2 separate regions of the Homo sapiens genome follow, and region 1 is linked to region 2. The links are contacts of gene promoters, found by promoter capture Hi-C in human tissues and cell types (Jung and others, 2019). All regions are on one chromosome and are shown on one strand. Each heading gives the region's core, a stretch centred on a gene start or on the middle of the fragment in contact. The rest is flanking DNA. Distances are from core to core; before and after follow the strand shown. Region 1 overlaps ZNF223 (zinc finger protein 223). Region 2 holds the start of CADM4 (cell adhesion molecule 4).

What was found. The method cuts DNA at HindIII sites, captures the fragments that hold promoters and counts their contacts. A contact is called where the count stands out against the background at its distance.
Region 1: a fragment that was not itself captured here is called in contact with the fragment with the promoter of CADM4 in region 2 in 2 of the 25 tissues and cell types used here (dorsolateral prefrontal cortex and lymphoblastoid cells).

What each region holds. Positions count from the first base shown.
Region 1 is chr19:44,064,289-44,067,196 of GRCh38, reverse strand. ZNF223 (zinc finger protein 223) reads right to left here. Exons shown (of 5, transcript NM_013361.6): 5 at 1-1,133. Among named protein-coding and RNA genes, the nearest start is that of ZNF284, 6.4 kb to the left of the region's middle. The HindIII fragment of the contact is 6,488 bases long and covers 1-2,908 here.
Region 2 is chr19:43,638,373-43,641,163 of GRCh38, reverse strand. It overlaps CADM4 (cell adhesion molecule 4), which reads left to right and starts at 1,314. Exons shown (of 9, transcript NM_145296.2): 1 at 1,314-1,437. The coding sequence starts at 1,374. RefSeq lists a silencer at 1,291-1,430. The HindIII fragment of the contact is 16,381 bases long and covers 1-2,791 here.

The sequences.
Region 1 (2,908 bases), core at 296-2,795, 430 kb before region 2:
GGATGGATTTTCTCCACTGTGGTTTTTTTGTTGGTCTTTACGGTATGACCGGTATACAAGCTTCTTTCCACAATCCTCACATTTGAATGGTTTTTTTCGGCAATGGAGTCTCTTATGATTCAAAATACTTGAGGCCTGTCTAAAGCTCTTCCCACAGTCATCACAGTTATAAGGTCTCTCTCCTGTGTGGGCTCTATGGTGCAAGTCAAGACCTGACTTAGTAATGTAGCTCTTCCCACACTTGTCACATTTGTATGGCTTTTCTCCAGTGTGGACTCGCTGATGGATCAAAAGATAGGAGGACCGTCTGAAGCTCTTCCCACATTCTTTACAATTATATGGTTTCTCTCCTGTGTGGATCGTCTGATGCTTACACAAATCCAGCCTACGAATGAAGCCTTTTCCATATTCCCCAGTGCTGTTTGGTTTCTTTCCTGTGTGGACCACACAATGCCTATTAAGACTTGACCTAAGACGGAAGCTCACACTACATATCTCACATTTGAATGGCTTCTCCCCTGTGTGAATTCTCTGATGTTTCTGAAGCTGGAAATCATGAATGAAGGCCCTCCCACATGCCTCACAATTATAATGTTTCTCTCCCATGTGTAATTTGCAATGAACTGTAAGTGCTGATCTACATCTGAAGCCTCTCCCACATTGTTCACATTTGAAAGGTTTCTCTCCAGTATGGACTCTCTGATGAGTTTGCAGATGTAAACTCTGACTGAATTCCTTACCACACACGTCACACTTAAAGAGTTTCTCTCCCAGGTGGACTCTCTGATGAATATGAAGCGCTGAGATGTAACAGAAGCTTTTTCCACACTCATCACAGGAATGAGACTTCTCTGCTGAGCGTATTTGCTGAGGAAGATCAAAGATGGACATATCACTGAAGGATTGTTTACACTTCCCACAATTGGAAGGTTTCTGTCCTGTGTGCATTATAGATAGTCCTTCCTCAACCTGGGAGTGGGCATCACCCTGTTCAAAGAACTGAGAGCTCTTTATGGTAGAGTCTTGAGGCCTGGTTAAATCACTTGCAATTTCTTCCCAGATCTGCTGGCAGGACCACCCTTCATGTGGTCCTGCTTCTGGAAAAGTCTTCATCTCAGGTTGGATCTTGCCTCCTATCAGAATACAAAATTAAGAGATCAGGACAAGCTATGCCCTGTTCAGTGTTTTTAAGAGTTCACACTTAGGACATGGTATGAAACTTCAACGAATGTTCAGTTTGTGTTTTCCAAGTGCACCCTGGTTTCTGGTTTGCATGAGAGTAATCTAAAACCATACCATGTCACTGGGGACGGTGGCTCACACCCATAATCCCAGCACTTTGGGAGACCAAGGCACTTTGGGAAGCTGAGGCAGGCAGATCACTTGAGGTCAGGAATTCGGGACCAGCCTGACCAACATAGTGAAACCCCGTCTCTATTAAAAATACAAAAATCAGCTAGGTGTGGTGGCACACACCTATAATCCCAGATACTTGGGAGGCTGAGGCAGGAGAATTGCTTGAACCCAGGAGGCGCAGGTTGCAGCAAGCCGAGATCGTGCCACTGCACTCCAGCCTGGGCGACACAGTGAGACTCTGCCTCAAAAAAAAAAAAAAAAAAGAAAAGAAAGAAAAAAACATACCACATTTCAAATAAAAAATCATTGATAGAAATAAAAGGTTTAATAAAAAATTAATATGACACATACATTTAACCTGTTACTGTTTTTAAAATTTCCAACTCAGTCTGAAATTTTACATGATAAATTACTAAACTATTATGTACGTAATGAAATATGAATCAAAAGGAACTCTAAGGGAAAGCAGTAACATAATAAATACTTCGTATATTTGCCTGTATATTATATATCCTTATAAAGAAGTTAACCTTCCTTTCAGTTTAAGATGGCTTAAAAAACATTTTTAAAAATAAGAAAAGGAGTTAACCTAACTAAAAAGAGGTCAGGACTTTGTCCTCAGTATCTGAGAGGTAATCTGTAGAATCTTGAAGGGGCATGCCTGAGGAGAGTCTCTCTGTTTGCTTGGGGGCAAATCTTGGGTAACTCTTGACAGTGAAATAATATAATTTAGGGTTGTGACTAGCCACAGCTTTGGGGGATGGGAAATGGCAGGTGGCATTCCCCATGTCAGAAAAAATAACGATGTGATTTAATGTAGGTCTTTAGGTCACAGGGAACCAGTGGACCAAAAGACTAAATAACCACACAGGAATCAACCAACCAATTATGGCTATGTAATGGAGCCCCAATAATTACTTGGATCCCAGCACTCAGTTGAGTTTCCCTGATTGGTGGTTCCTTGTGTCTAAGTCACATGCTAATTTTGGGTATGTAACATGCCCGACTCTACTGTGAGAATACAATAGGAGATCCACATTTGGTACTTCACTGGACTCTGTCTTATTTGGTTTTTCCCCCTTGGTTAACTATAATATGCATCTTTTGCTTGTAAAAATCAGTAACTGTGAGAATAAATACATCCAGTGAGTTCTGAGGGTCTTTCTAGGAAATTATTGAATGTGAAGGTAGTTTTGAAAAACTGCCGAATTTGCACTTGGAGTGAAGTGAGAGCAGTTCTCTGTAAAATGTCCCATTAAACTTTTTAGTTTAACCCTTCATGATACTAAACATCAAACACCTTAGAATGTTTATATCTACAAATCGAAAGTATTCCTATACAAGAATTTTGCATGACACATATAAAATACTTAATCTTATTTTTCTGTTTTGATATGGATGATAAGTTGGTTATCTGAAAGAGTACAGAGACAGACAACTGCAGTTCTGAGGGGAATCTGAAAGGCTGTCCTTCCAGAGGTCCACAAAGGAGGATGCTCTTCATCAGACAATCAATGATGTGAAGAATCACTTGGAATGAAAAGAAAGCCTA
Region 2 (2,791 bases), core at 65-2,564:
AACTCCGTCTCTACTAAAAATATAAAAATTAGCTAGGCATGGTGGCGGGCGCCTGTAATCTCAGCTACTCGGGAGGCTGAGGCAGGAGAATCACTGGAACCTGGGAGGCAGAGGTTGCAGTGAGTCGAGATCGTGCCACTGCACTCCAGCCTGGGCAACAGAGCGAGACTCCGTCTGGGCGGGGAGGGGGGAGGGGGGAAGGAAAGATGTTCATAATTGGCACTTCTGGACCTCAGTTTGCCTGACAAATGGGCATGAGAGAGGTCGAGGCCTTCTTTCCATGGTTTCTCACTCTTTCTGGGTCCCATAGGTAATGATCCCGCATCAGGTCTACAGGGTGTCACAGAAGTGGGCTCAGGGAAACCCACTCCCAGGAGGGAGAAGGGACCTAAGTCTGGAGGGGTGAGTCACCCTCAAAGATGGGGAGAGAGGAAGGGCAGAGGCAAATACATGCAGAGAGAGGGAGAGAGGCTGGGGCAGGGAGACAGCAGGGAGGAGAGGGGACGCCAGGGCTTGGAAGGTGTTCACAGGAGCCTCTCCCTCCTGGGACCCAGGATTCAGGCTTCCTTCCAGTTAGTTCACTTTCAGGGGGCCCCTCCCGGAGAATGACGCGGAAACACGGGGTTTTCAGGTCAGGACAGGAGAGAGGGAGGGAGGGAACTGACCCCACCCCACTCCTGAGCCCCAGCCTCGCCCTGCCCTGGGAGATCCTTGACCTGCCTCGACCTCCGGACCCTCCGGACCTCCAGCTGCAGCCTCCCCTGTCCCGGTGGCTCAGCTCACAGCCTCTCGCTAGACTCCAGACACCCACCTGCCCGCAGCACGCCTCTCACACTCACCTTTCCCACGTCGCACTCCCTCCCTTACGCTCCCCCGTCACGCTGGCCACGCTCTCCCTTCGCACACACCGCACCCCACGACGCCCGCGCCCCCACCCTCGCACAGCCTCCAGCAACACCCTGCCACCCTCCCCTCCGCGCAGCGCAAGCACCCTGCATGCCAGCAACTCCGCACCCTCGCGCGCAGCACCTGGGCCCGCACGCAGCACCCTCACCCAACACCCTCCATTTCCCGCGCTCACCGAGATCCCCCACCTGCTCCCACGCCGCTGTCGCCCTCCCGCGCACCCCTTCCCGCCCTCCTCACCCCTCTCCTCTCCAGCTTTCGCACCCCGCACCGTTCCCCCACCGTGCCGTCCCCCCGATTGTCTCCGGGCCTCTCCTCCGTCTCCCCCTCCCCTCCCCGGCCCCGCCCCGGCCTCGGCGCCCCGCCCCCGGGCGGGCAGGGGGCGGGGCGCGGGGGGCGGGGCGGGCGGCGCGGGCGGTGCAGGTGCCGGGCCGGGAGCGAGCGGCGGCGGCGGCGGCGGCGGCACCATGGGCCGGGCCCGGCGCTTCCAGTGGCCGCTGCTGCTGCTGTGGGCGGCCGCGGCGGGGCCAGGTAGGGTCGGGGGCCGGGGTCGGCCGGCCGGGCTGGGGCGGGGGGCGCGCTGTGGTGACAGCCCGGCAGCCTCGGGGCCGCAGAGGCCGAACAATGCGCGCGGGGCCGGGCCGGGCCCCCTCCCCGGGACAAAGCGCAGCGCGGGCCGGGAGCCGGGAGCGACGAGCGGGGGAGGGGGCGCGGGGCCCGGCCGCCGTGCCGCAGCCCCCCCACCCGCGCAGGCTGGATCCCGGCGGGGACAAAGGGCCCGAGACCCCCCTACACACACAAGTCCGCCCTCCCCAGGCCGGTCCCGCTGTCCTTCTGTCCAGTCTCTGCGTCCCTCTGTCCGCCCGTCTCTGAACCCCCCCGTCTGGCTCCTCGTCCCCCTACCCTTGTCCTCTATCCCTCAGTCTCGAAGTCCTGTCCCTCCTTCTGTCTGTCTCCCTCTCTTCTTGCCTCGGTGTTCCTCATCTATTCTGTCTTTGTCCCCTACCTCTGTCCCCTGGTCTCTGTCCCCTTTTCCTGGGTCACTCTGTCCCCTCCATCATCCTGTCTATTCTCTTTCCCCCGGATTTCTGCCCTCCCTCTCTGCCCCTATTCTTGGTCCCTGTCTCTGTCTCGCTGTCACCCTTGTTTTTCTGTCCCTTTTTCTCTGTCCCCTATCTGCCCCATCCCCTTGTCTCTGTCCCCTGTCTTTCTGTCACTCGTTTCTCTAACCCTTTCTGTCACCTGTCTCTTTCCCCCTTCTCTGTCCCACTATCTCCATCCCTGTCTTTCTGCTGTGCCTCCTCTCTCTACGCTTACAGCCTCCATCCCGGGATCTCCCATTCCCATCCTACCTTCCTCCCTCTCTCTATCCCTCTGTGCCCCTGAAGAGGAATTCAGTCAGGCAGGGCATTCTAAAGAGCCCTGGAGGGGAACATCTGTGTGCATGTGTGTGGGGAAGTGAGAATGGGGGACCTTGGCGTGTAGGCACACACGTGGATTCAGCGAATGCCTCTCCAAACCCTGCTCACCCATTCACACACCCAGGCTTGACTCACAGAGAAGCCCCTGTCCAGGACATCCAGGGAGCCATCCACATACCCTCATCACACACTGTGAGAAGCTGGAGACCCCCGAGGTTGGGTGACCCTGAGAATGGGGACAAGGTCAGGAAATGTCACCCACACACACTCTCACACTGTGTAAGTCTTGAACCTGCCACGGGTCACCCCTCCCTGGTGGATAAGGCCACTTTTGGAAGGAACAGAGGATTGGAAGGTGGCTAGGCAGAAGCAGGAGGGCTGGGTGTTCGGCAGAGATTGGTGAGAGGAGTTATAACCAGGTGGCATGGGGCTGGCGGCCTGGGCTTAAATCTTGGCTCTTGCCA